Linked DNA regions of Homo sapiens: region 2 is linked to region 1. The links are contacts of gene promoters, found by promoter capture Hi-C in blood cells and fetal thymus (Javierre and others, 2016). All regions are on one chromosome and are shown on one strand. The core of a region is centred on a gene start or on the middle of the fragment in contact, and the rest is flanking DNA. Distances in the headings are between cores, read along the strand shown. Region 1 holds the start of NRSN2 (neurensin 2). Region 2 overlaps CSNK2A1 (casein kinase 2 alpha 1).

Region 1 (5,225 bases), core at 1-2,500:
GAGGAAAAACAACAACAACAAAAGCCACGACAGAGAACGGGAAAAGGCAGAGACTGAAAGCGAAGGACCGTCGGAGGAGGAGGGCGAGAGGTCTGGAGAGGAGGGCTCGCCGGAGGAGGCGGGCGGGGCGGGCTGTGCGGAGGGTGCGGCCAGCGCGGTACCCGCCCCGGCGAGGCGCTGGGGAGGCCCGGGTGGGGAGAAGAAATGGGGCCTGGGGGACGGTAGGAGCCTCCGTGCGGAGACCACTGTTCAAGGCCACAGGTGAGGAGGTGTGGAGGGGGCTTCGGGGCTGTTGACCTGGGTCAGCTCCTCCCCTCCAATTCACCGCTTCCGCGACTCCAAATAGATGGAATCACTCAGTCCTGCTGCTACTGGAGAGGGAAGGTGACCTTGACGCTGCCTCCCGCTCGGCCTGGCCCCTCCGCCTGGCGTTTCAGGGCTGCACGGAGTAGGTCTGGCGGGCGGGGGGCGGGGCGCAGGCACCCGGGACGAGGGTTGCCATGGGAACCGCTAGGGAGGCGTCCCCAGCCCGGGAGCCGGGAGGAGCTCGGTGGGAGGGGAGCGGGAGGCGGAGGGGGCTGCGCTGTCCGACGTGGGGAGACTGCGGCGGAGGGAGGAGGCGAGGGGCGGCAGGCACGGGCGGAAGTGACGGAAGCCAGGGCCCGAAGATGGACGGAATCTGTCGCCTCTGCACAGCCTCATTCAGTTGTGTCCTTCCCAGACCCTCAGACTCGCCCACTACAGCGTCCAGCGCTGCCCGGGCGGGGGAGAAGGGGCGCCCTCCCGGGGGGGATGGGTAGGGGGTGTCGGCCGGGGAAATCAGGCCATTTCCCGCCTCCCTTCCCCACCGGCACCCGCGCCACTCTTCCTGACAGGACCACCGATGCCCTGCTCCACACCAACTGCGTCCTTTTCCCTAGAGAGAAACTGAGGCAGAGAGGGGTAGGAATGGGTTTTTGAAGTGTTGGCGGGGGTGGGGGTGTCCTTTGAAGCCTCTACCCAGCCTATCAACCCTGAGGCGTCGAGGGGCGATGGGGCTGTTTCTGTCTCCCGCCCCTGCTGCTTCCCTGGGACCCCCACCTCCCAAAGCCGAGGCTCAGGCGCAAAGGTCCCGGCCCTGGCGGGACACGGCCCGGGCTGAGGATGCGGGCAGAGCGCGGGGGTTCTCCAGGGGCTGGGGCTGGGGCCTGGCCGCGCGTGGGGCAGGGCTAAGCTCACCTCTCTGCCTGCTGTCTCCGCCGAGCAAAGGCGGGTCCGGTTCGCGCCTGCGCCGCAGTTCGGGGCGGGGGAGGGGGCGCCGGCCCGCCTCAGGGCCTGGCTCTGCAGACGGCGGCCGCCTGCAGCTCCCCCGGCTCCTGTCCCCTTCCAGAGTTCCCTGCTCGCTCGGACACCCCAGCGCCCTCACAGAGACCCCTCGGACTCCCTGGGCCCCAGCCCCTCACGCAGCCCCTCAGACTCCTCACCGAAGCTGCCGTCACTCCCGCAGTTCCCCACCCCTCCCGTGGAAGACCCATCCCTTAACCGAGCCTTCCTCTCCTCGCTGCACCGTCAGTCCCTTTTCCAGGTCTCCATCCCCCTCATGGAGCCCCACCCCAGCGTAGAAACCGCTTCTCCTCGCCGGGCCCCCGCCCTCTTCACAGGCTCCCATCTGTCTCCGGGCTCCTACCGGGAAGTCCCCTCCCACTTGCCTTGAGAGCCGCTAATCCCTCTGGAGTCCTCACATCTCACTCAGTCCCCATCCTCTTTTCATCCTCTTTTCCTCTTTGAGTCCCTACCCATCCCTGGTACGGGATCAGCCCTTGTACCTTGAGAAGGGAGTTTGGGTGGAGGACTCGGGGTTGGGAGAGAAGTGACCTCCACTTTGGAAGGAGCTAATGACAGCCTCCCTTGTTGTTTCCTCCCCTAGCCCCAGTTCTGCCCTGGGCAATGCGTGCCCACTGCCCATCTCCCTGGAGAGCCAGCCTGTGCCAGGCAGCTGCATCTGCCTCCCACCCTGTCATGAGCTGTCAGCCTTGATTTTGTCCCACATTTGCTGTGTGATCTTGGGAAAGTCATTGTGCCCCTCCAACCGTCATCAAGCACCCTTGCACAGACATGCCTTTGTGTCTTGAGCATCTATTCTGTTTCTCCTTGTGCTAGGGGCTGGGGACACACAGAAGAATGAGCTCGGCAAGATAGGGCCACATCTTCCTTTTTAGTTTTTCTTTTTCTTTTTTTTTAATTTTTATTTTTTTGAGACAGCGTCTCACTCTGTTGTCCAGGCTGGAGTGCGGTGGCATGATCACGGCTCACTGCAGCCTCGATCTCCCAAGGCTCAGGTGATCCTCCCACCTCAGTCGCCTGAGGAGCTGGGACTACAGGCACGCACTACCATGCCTAGCTAATTTTTTGTATTTTTAATAGAGACAGGGTTTTGCCATGATGCCCAGGCTGGTCTTGAACTCCTGAGCTCAAGTGATCCACCTGCCTCGGCCTCCCAAAGTGCTGGGATTGTAAGCGTGAGCCACCGCGTCTGGCCAAGGCCACATATTTCTTGTTCGTGTTGTATCTGTGAGCCTCCCATAGTGCTTGGCACTGAGTAGGCAGCCCAGTAAATATTTACTGAAGACAGTCTAATAATAGTAGCAAACTTATTATGCTCACTATGTGCAAAGTGTTTAAGCGTTTTGTATGTTCTATTTACTTACTCATTTAAGTGTGTGTGTGTGTGTGTATGTGTGTGTGTGTGATGGGAGGAACTCTTGCAGCTCAAAACTAAAGGCCCCAAATGGTGACAGGAGATGGCATTGGAGAGGCAGGCAGAAGTGAGACCTTGTGGGGCCTCATAAGCCAAGGTAAGGAGTTTGAGCTTCAGCCCAAGGGTAGTGGGGAGCCATGGAAGGGTTATGAAGAGGGGTGGGATGTGATCTGATTTTCATTCTGAAAAGACCTCTGGCTGCTGTCAAGAGAACAGCATGTTGAGCACAAGAGTGACAGCAAGAGATCAGCAAAGAGATCAGAGATGACAGTGTCTTGGCCTGGTGCAGAGAAATGAAGACATTCAAGAGATGTTAGCCTGTAAAATGAACTACAGGAATAGCTACAGATTGGAAACAACCTGTGGTGGTTTTAAAATATAGCTACAAATTCTTTAGCACTCCTCTGTAGAGAGGTGGGATCCTTGTACCCTCTCTGAATCTTGGGTGAGCTGATGACTGCTTCAACCAATGGAGTACGGTGGAAGTAACACTCTGACTTCTAAGGTCCAGACATAAAAGTACAGGCAACTTCTGCTAGAACTCTAGCTCTTGGAGCCTGAGGCACCATGCCTACCTAGGGCTCCATGTCTGCTTAGAGGCTGCCATGCTGTCAGGATGCCAAGACCATCAGGAGAGGACACATGAAGGCACCACAGTCCCAGCTAAGCTTAGCTTTGAGTCATCCCAGTTCAAGCATAAAAGAAGTGAGTGAAGAAGAACCAGATGAGGCCAGGCACGGTGGCTCACACCTGTAATCCCAGCACTTTGGGAGGCCAAGGCGGGTGGATACCCTGAGTTCAGGAGTTCGAGACCAGCCTGGCCACATGGCAAAACCCCGTCTCTACTAAAAATACAAAAATAGCCGGGCATGGTGGCGTGCACCTGTAATCCCAGCTACTAGGGAGGATGAGGCAGGAGAATTGCTTGAACCCGGGAGGCAGAGGTTGCAGTGAGCCGACATCATGCCATTGCACTGTAGAAGGCGAAGGGGAAGGGGAAGAACAAGATGATTCCAGTGGCCAGCCATTTGAATCAGCTTCAGCCTTCAAATCTTCAAATCTTCCTAGCTGAAGACTCAAACATTGCAGAGTAGAAACAAGCTGGCCTCACTGTGTCCTGCCTGAATTCCTGACACACAGAACCCACAAGCATATTCAAGTGGTTATTGTGTTATACCACTAGGTTTGGGGGGTTTTGTTCTGTGCTAACAGATAACTGGGACACCACTTAAATATCCATCAATGGAAGACGAGTTATGTACATTATATGTCTTTGTGGAATACTATGCATCCATTAGAAAGAAGAAATTAGTCTATAATTATTTATATTAATCACACTTCAAGTGAAGAAGGATGCAGTGTTCTGAAAAGTCTTGATAGTATGCCTCCATTTGAAATTCTCAAAAAGATGGCACATATAGAGAACTTCTGGGAAAATAGACAAGAAAGAGGTAACAGTAGATGCCTTGGGGGAGGGTAACTGATGGCAAGGGTGGGAATGAAATTCACTTTTTTTTTTTTTTTTTGAGATGGAGTCTCGCTCTGTCACCAGGCTGGAGGGCAGTGGTGCGATCTCAGCTCACTGCAACCTCCGCCTCCCGGGTTCAAGCGATTCTCCTGCCTCAGCCTCCCCAGTAGCTGGGACTACAAGCACATGCCACCATGCCCAGCTAATTTTTTTTTGTATTTTTAGTACAGATGAGGTTTCACCATGTTGGCCAGGATGGTCTCTATCTCCTGACCTCATGATCTGCCTGCCTCGGCCTCCCAAAGTGCTGGGATTACAGGCATGAGCCACTGTGCCCGGCCGAAATTCACTTTTTACTATACACCTCTATGTTAGTTATCTATTGATTTTGTAAAAATTTAGGTGAGAAATGATGAAGAATTGGAGTGGGCAGGAAAAATGGAAAGGAGGGTGCAGGTGTGAAAAATGTCCATAAAGTTAAGTTGGCAGAACTTGGTTACTAAGAAGTAAGGGAAGTGACAGGGATTGAGAGAGAGAGAGAGAGACAGAGAGAGGGAGAGAGACAGAGAGGATAGAGGCTGACTTTTATGTTTATAGGTCAGGTGGGTGATGCTCCCATTAACAGAGATGTAAAATAGATGAGGGAAAGCCAGGTTGTGGAGAAGTTGATGCCCTTTGCTTTTGGCAGAGTTGAATGGCACTGTACAGGACATTCTGGCCTAGAGTCAGGGGCAAGGTCTTGGCCTTAGATACAACATAGGGAATTGTTCTCACTGGAAATGGCAGTTTTAAACTTGAACTGGCTTTAAACAAAGGGAATATAAAGGCTCACATAATTGAGAAGTCAAGGGATACTGGCTTCAGGCATGGCTGTATCCAGATGCTCAGGATCTTTCTCTTTATCTCTTGGCTCTTCCCTCATCTGTGTTGGCTTCAATGTCAGGCAGATTTTCCCTATATGGTAGCAAAATGGCCACAGACTTCAAATTTAACTGCTGGGAAAAGAATCTGTTTCTCCTT
Region 2 (5,767 bases), core at 1-2,500, 190 kb before region 1:
GAGATTTGGGACTTCTGAAATGATAAGCTTTAGATGGGAAACCTTTGGGACCTTGGGATGGGATGGATGTATTTTGCATTTGAGAGAGAGATGAATCCTTGGAAACCAGAAGGCAGACTGCGGTAAGCAGAATGGCTCCCCTACGATTTCCATACTATAAACCCTGGAACATGAATATGTTAAGTAGATTTAATTAAAGTTAAGGATCTTAGGTAGATTATCTTGGATTTTCTGGGTGGGTTTATTCTACTCACATAAGCACTTAAAAGCAGAGAACTTTTTCTGGCTGGTGTCAGAGATGAGGCAGAAGGGGAAGTCAAATTTGAAGCATGAGAAGGACTCAGCCTGCCGTTACTGGAGGGGACCAGATTGAAAGTGTGAGACGGGGAATGCAGGCAGCCTCTAGTAGGAAAGGCCAGTCCCAGCTGACAACCAGCAAGGAAGTGGGAACTCAGTCCTACAGCTGCAAGGAACTAAATTCAGCCAATAGCTTGAATGAATGTGGAAGCAAATTTTCCCCAGAGTTTCCAGCAGGGAACCCACCCACTGGATACCCTCATTTAGCCCTTGTGAGACCCAGTCAAGCCCACTGACTTCTGTAAGATAATCCATTTGTGTTGTTTTGTTTGTGATAATTTGTTATGACACAATGGAAAACAAATACAGGGGTTTTGCTGGTTTTATTTTAGAGTCTTTGGGATATCATTTTCTAGAGAACAAAGATAGCAAAGATTCTATAAAACAATTTAGTCCTGGAAGACTCCACGGAATAATGGTGTTGAGTGGAACCTGTGCCTGTTTCTTGATGTTTGAATATTATTATTGTCCTTAGATGCAGTTTGAAGGGGCTTGATGGTCAGCTTAGTGAGATGTAGTTTCTGAAGGTCTAGGACATTGGTAGGATTTCTGTAAATAGGTGGTTCTTCCATATCTTGGATAAATGACATAATTTCTTCATTAGTTTTTATTGGCTTAATAATGGGTTTCTATGACAGCCTTTTAAGGCTTATTTCATATTTTTTTAGAGGAGATGGAAATGGGTGATACATTTTTGTGAATTTGTAACTGTCTCTCTGTTCTCTCACACCTCCCACCCCACCCCAGCTCAGCTCAAACTTGTAAGATCTTTTCTCCCTGTCATTGTCTGTTGAGGTTGTTGAGTTTAAGAGTCAGATCTGGGAATCATCACTACAGAATGGAGTTTCTAGCTTTTAAGAAAAGTCTTTTCTTTTTGTTCTTTAAAGTATCCTATTAATTGGATTCATAAAATATGGACTAACTAAACTTTAGTCAGAGGATGAAGGAAGTGAGACCATTTCTTTTGAGTTATTACCTGAATAGAAAGATGATTACAAGATTAGCATTTCAGGGTATGAAAGACTTTAGAGGTTATGTTTGACTTTGGGTTTAGAGTAAGGGAAATTGGGCCACATGAATGTTAACTGGTCTACTAAGATATCTCAGCCCTAGAGCTAGTCTAGAATCCTGGTCCAGCCAATAGAGAATCATGACTTTTGAACTATGTTCCCTGAGTACCCTTTTCTACTGTTGGCCGGGCATGGTGGCTCACACCTGTAATCCCAGTTCTTTGAGAGGCCGAGGTGGGCAGATGACTTGAGGTCAGGACAAGACCAGCCTGGCCAACATGGTAAAACCCCATCTCTACTAAAATTAGCTGAGTGTGGAGGTGCGTGCCTGTGGTCCCAGCTACTCAGGAGGCTGAGAATCACTTGAACCTGGGAGACGGAGGTTGGTTGCAGTGAGTCAAGATCACGCCACTGCACTCCAGCCTGGGGGACAGAGCAAGACTCCGTCTCAAAAAAAAAAAAAAAAGATGTTAACTGTCTATAATATTCAACTATATGACAACTTTTGCATAAATATTACAGTATGATTTGTACAAGTTCAGAAACTGAAAACCAATATGATTTGCCATTGAATTAGGTAAGGGCTTAGTATTTTAAGGTAATAAATAATGTGATACTTGATTTGAAATGAGAAACTGGGTTTTGATCTGTCACAATTCGTGGGTAACCTGGATAAGGTTTGTTTCATGAGAGTATTAATGTGTTCTTATACCTGAATTTCTTTGAACTTCTGAAATGGATAATTTCGAAAGTAGCATGTCATTTAGTTTATAGAGAAATCTAGGCCAGCCAGCTTTTCAAATGAAGAAATTCCTCTAGGATTATTAAGGAAAAGTAGCTGCTGTCATTGTAACAAAGGATGTATTTTCATTGGGTTATAGACAATTGGTAGTTTTCTTACGTTGAGTGCTCCCAGATGTACTTTTTTTTTTTCACATGTAGAAGTCAAAGATTGAGTCTTTTAAAAAGTTTAAGGTGAAAGCATTCACAGTATCACAAGATACTGCTAAGAGTGGCATTTTAACTGGTTTCTACAAATTCTGTCTTTCAGTCTTAGACATTAAAAAACCCTACGTAGCAACAGTTGCTATGGTCGGCAAGCTTCTTTACATTCGTGGTGATAATGTTTTCTTGCATAGAAAATATTGTGTTATCTGAGGTGACAGTTTTAGGGTTAAATACCAAGGTACAAGTTAGATTAATGTTTTATAATTTTTTATGTGTGACATCTTAAATGCCCTTATATTGGCTGCTCTTTTCTTTTTATACTTTCTTGTCTTGTGGGTTTTTCTGACAGGTTTTTATTAGCTGAAACATTTTAATTTGCTTGGAAAAGTGAACATTTGAAATTTTCCTGAAGTTATGACTAATGCTTTAATGGGCATTTCTCAGTTTAGCTATCTCATCAATGTTCTATAAATTTTAAGAAAGCTACCCTGTTTAAAATGAATGGGTAAATTATTTTCCAAAAAATGGTATCATGTCATATCCAGAAATACGAGATGGTCATTTTGGGTTATTGAATTCATAACCACTCAGAAGATGTTGTTCATTCAGCAGATCCTGAGCGCCTGCCACGTTTCTGGCAGGCGTTGTGCTAAAGATCTCCAAACTGTCACTGCCCTCCAAGCTCAAAATTGAGTGACGTTTTCTGATAACAGGCATATCATACCACAACTTAGTAGATTTTGGAGGTGTTTTCTTATAATAACTCCTATTTGCTTTGTATCTTAGGTGTAGTTTTTGAAACAGCTGCAGAAATGAGAAGGGGGTAGAATAGAGAATTAATTGAGATTGCGGGTAGGGAGGGGAAGGCAATAGGTTAGTGGGAAAGAACTCCCACTTTGAGTTTGGGGAAGTTTACTTAACCTCTTCAAGTCTGGGAGTTCTTGTCTCTACAGTTCGGATAACAACTACCTTGGGCAACTTACTAACTTTTGGTTTCTTCACCTGTAACATGGGAATTAGTAGTACCTACCTCAGGATTTTTGTGAGGATTAATAACTAGAGTACTAGCTAGTATTATCTCAGGATTATTGAGGATTAAAGGAGAAAATTGATAAAATGTCTGGCATGTGGGTGCCCAACATTAGTTCTTTCCCTTCCCTTTCGGAGAAAAGAATGTGTTTATTGCCAGTGCTGTCATTCTTCATTCTTTATTTTCATTTTCTGCTGCCAAGAGTTCTTATTTTTTTAATGAGACTTTTGACCTGTACTTCCTTGTTTCTAATGTAGCCTGTTGGGTGGGTGAGGTATGAATTGCTGCCTAGGGGTGGATCAGTATGTAAGTCACGCCCAGTGTAGATTACCTCAATTACTCGTGTACAGTGTCTATTACCTAGTCCTGGTGAGTCTAGGATTCTTTTGCTTCTAGATAGAGAAGGTAATATTCCCATCTCAGACTCAGGAAAAGGTCTACCTTTGCTCACCTATAGACTTGTAAATATAGATCAGAGGTCTTACTCCCAGTGGTTCTCTGATCACAGTTTGGGAATTGCTTGAATATTGTGTGTTAGGGATATGTTTGGAGAAGGCCAGCTCCCTGCATTAACATCTTCTCTATGTCTTGCTCTCTCAGGTAATCCACTAACTTGCTTTCTTGTTTGCTTTGTATTATTAAGTGATAAACTGTAGGCAGACCAGGAACTTGTATTTATCGGCACTTTAAAACTTTTTTTTTTTTTTTTTTTGAGATGGAGTCTTGCTCTGTCGCCCAAGCTGGAGTGCAGTGGCGCAATCTCTGCCTCCTGGGTTCAAGTGATTCTCCTCTCTCAGCCTCCTAAGTAACTGGGATTACAGGTGCATGCCACCCCACCGGGCTAATTTTTGTATTTTTAGTAGAGGCGGGGTGTCGCCATGTTGGCCACGCTGGCCTCAAACTCCTGACCTCAGGTGATCCACCCGCCTCAGCCTCCCAAAGTGCTGGGGTTACAGGCGTGAGCCACCGCGCCCGGCCAGTGTTTTGTGTATTTATGATTATATAGAATGGCTACAAATGGCCATCTGCTTTGGAGTTGTCTACCTTTTGTGAAAAAATGAAAATAGACTATTGCCTAGCAATTAAGTATTCAAGCATGTATTTTGCCACATAATTTATTGTGAGAAGGTTATCAATGTCAAATAAAATGCTTTCATTATTTGCTTCTATTTGTCTGTCTTCCTGACCAGTTCATTTTTCCTTCCAGTGAAGCCATCTTGAGCTAGGGTTTTCTTTGTGGGTAGTTGTTAATTTTTTTTGTAGAGACAAGGTCTCACCATGTTGCCCAGGCTGGTCTCAAACTCCTGGGCTCAAGCAGTCCTCTTAACTCAGCCTCCCAAAGTGCTGAGATTACACTCATGAGCCACCACACTGGTCCGAAGAAATTTTTTTTTTTTTTTTTTTTTTTTTTTTTTTTGGGAGATAGCATCTCACTCTGTTGCCAGGCTGGAGTGCAGTGGCACGACCTTGGCTCACTGCAACCTCCACCTCCCGGGTTCAAGCAATTCTCCTGCCTCAGCCTCCCAAGTAGCTGGGACTACAGGCGCACGCTGCCACGCCTGGCTTTTTTTTTTTTTTGTATTTTAGTAGAGATGGGGTTTCACTGTGTTTCCCAGGCTGGTCTCTAACACCTGAGCTCAGGCAATCCACCCATCTCGGCCTCCCAAAGTGCTGGGATTGCAGGTGTGAGCCACTGCACCCAGCCTGGTCTGAAGAATTTTTAAACACCACAGCTAAGGACCTGAGCATTCATCTGCAGCTACCTATATGCTCTTGTTACATACAGTTGTTATACTAGGGGGTTTTTCACAGCCATCTTTTATGACTGTTTTTGGAAAACATCACATTGACCTTCATACATATTCAAAACTTTAGGCTTTGTTGCATCTGGAGTCCAACACTGAGGCCCACAGATGTCACCAGCCCCCAGCCAGCAAGGTGGGGCATGTCTCAGTTGTCTTCCTTTCTCCCTTCAGTAGCCACACAGAAAAGCTTTTCCATCATTTAAAATCTGATTTTTATACAATTGTGGCCTGGTGGCCAGCCCATTCAGGTAAAAGAATAATGAAGAAACCTGATTATTGAAACTCAGTATCCCACCCCTACCTTGCCTCCAAATTTAAAGCAGTTCATTTTATTATAGTGTTTTGGATAGGCTGTTAATAAATCAGTTTGGAGAACTAAGGAAATAGTATTAAATTTAGTGAAAAGAACCTATTTAGGCTTTGGATCCTAAACAGATCTGGCTTCCACCACTTAGTAATCCTGTTGTTTTTGGCAGATTATTTAACCTCTGAATCTGTTTATTTCTAAAATCAGAATATGCATCTGATACTGTGCCTGGTTTGTAAGAGGCATTCAAATGGTAACAGTAGTTATTACATTCATAAGTGCTGAATTTTTCTTTAGATTACTGTATATC

What was found. Contacts are between HindIII fragments. The CHiCAGO score rates a contact against its expected background, and 5 or more counts as called.
Region 2: a contact is called between a fragment that was not itself captured here and the fragment with the promoter of NRSN2 in region 1, in 7 of 17 cell types (activated CD4 T cells, naive B cells, total B cells and 4 more). The highest score is 8.6, in activated CD4 T cells.

Annotation. Positions count from the first base shown.
Region 1 is chr20:343,136-348,360 of GRCh38, reverse strand. It overlaps NRSN2 (neurensin 2), which reads right to left and starts at 1,250. Exons shown (of 5, transcript NM_001323682.2): 1 at 1,219-1,250; 2 at 849-927. It overlaps LOC101929937 (serine/arginine repetitive matrix protein 2-like), which reads left to right. Exons shown (of 4, transcript XM_047440635.1): 2 at 1-261; 3 at 347-942; 4 at 1,370-2,095. The coding sequence ends at 1,693. RefSeq lists silencers at 143-232, 413-942, 963-1,382 and enhancers at 189-951, 952-1,714, 1,715-2,478. The HindIII fragment of the contact is 16,038 bases long and covers 1-3,407 here.
Region 2 is chr20:534,030-539,796 of GRCh38, reverse strand. All of the region lies in intron 1 of CSNK2A1 (casein kinase 2 alpha 1), which reads left to right. Among named protein-coding and RNA genes, the nearest start is that of CSNK2A1, 6.9 kb to the left of the region's middle. RefSeq lists an enhancer at 5,066-5,115. The HindIII fragment of the contact is 2,441 bases long and covers 30-2,470 here.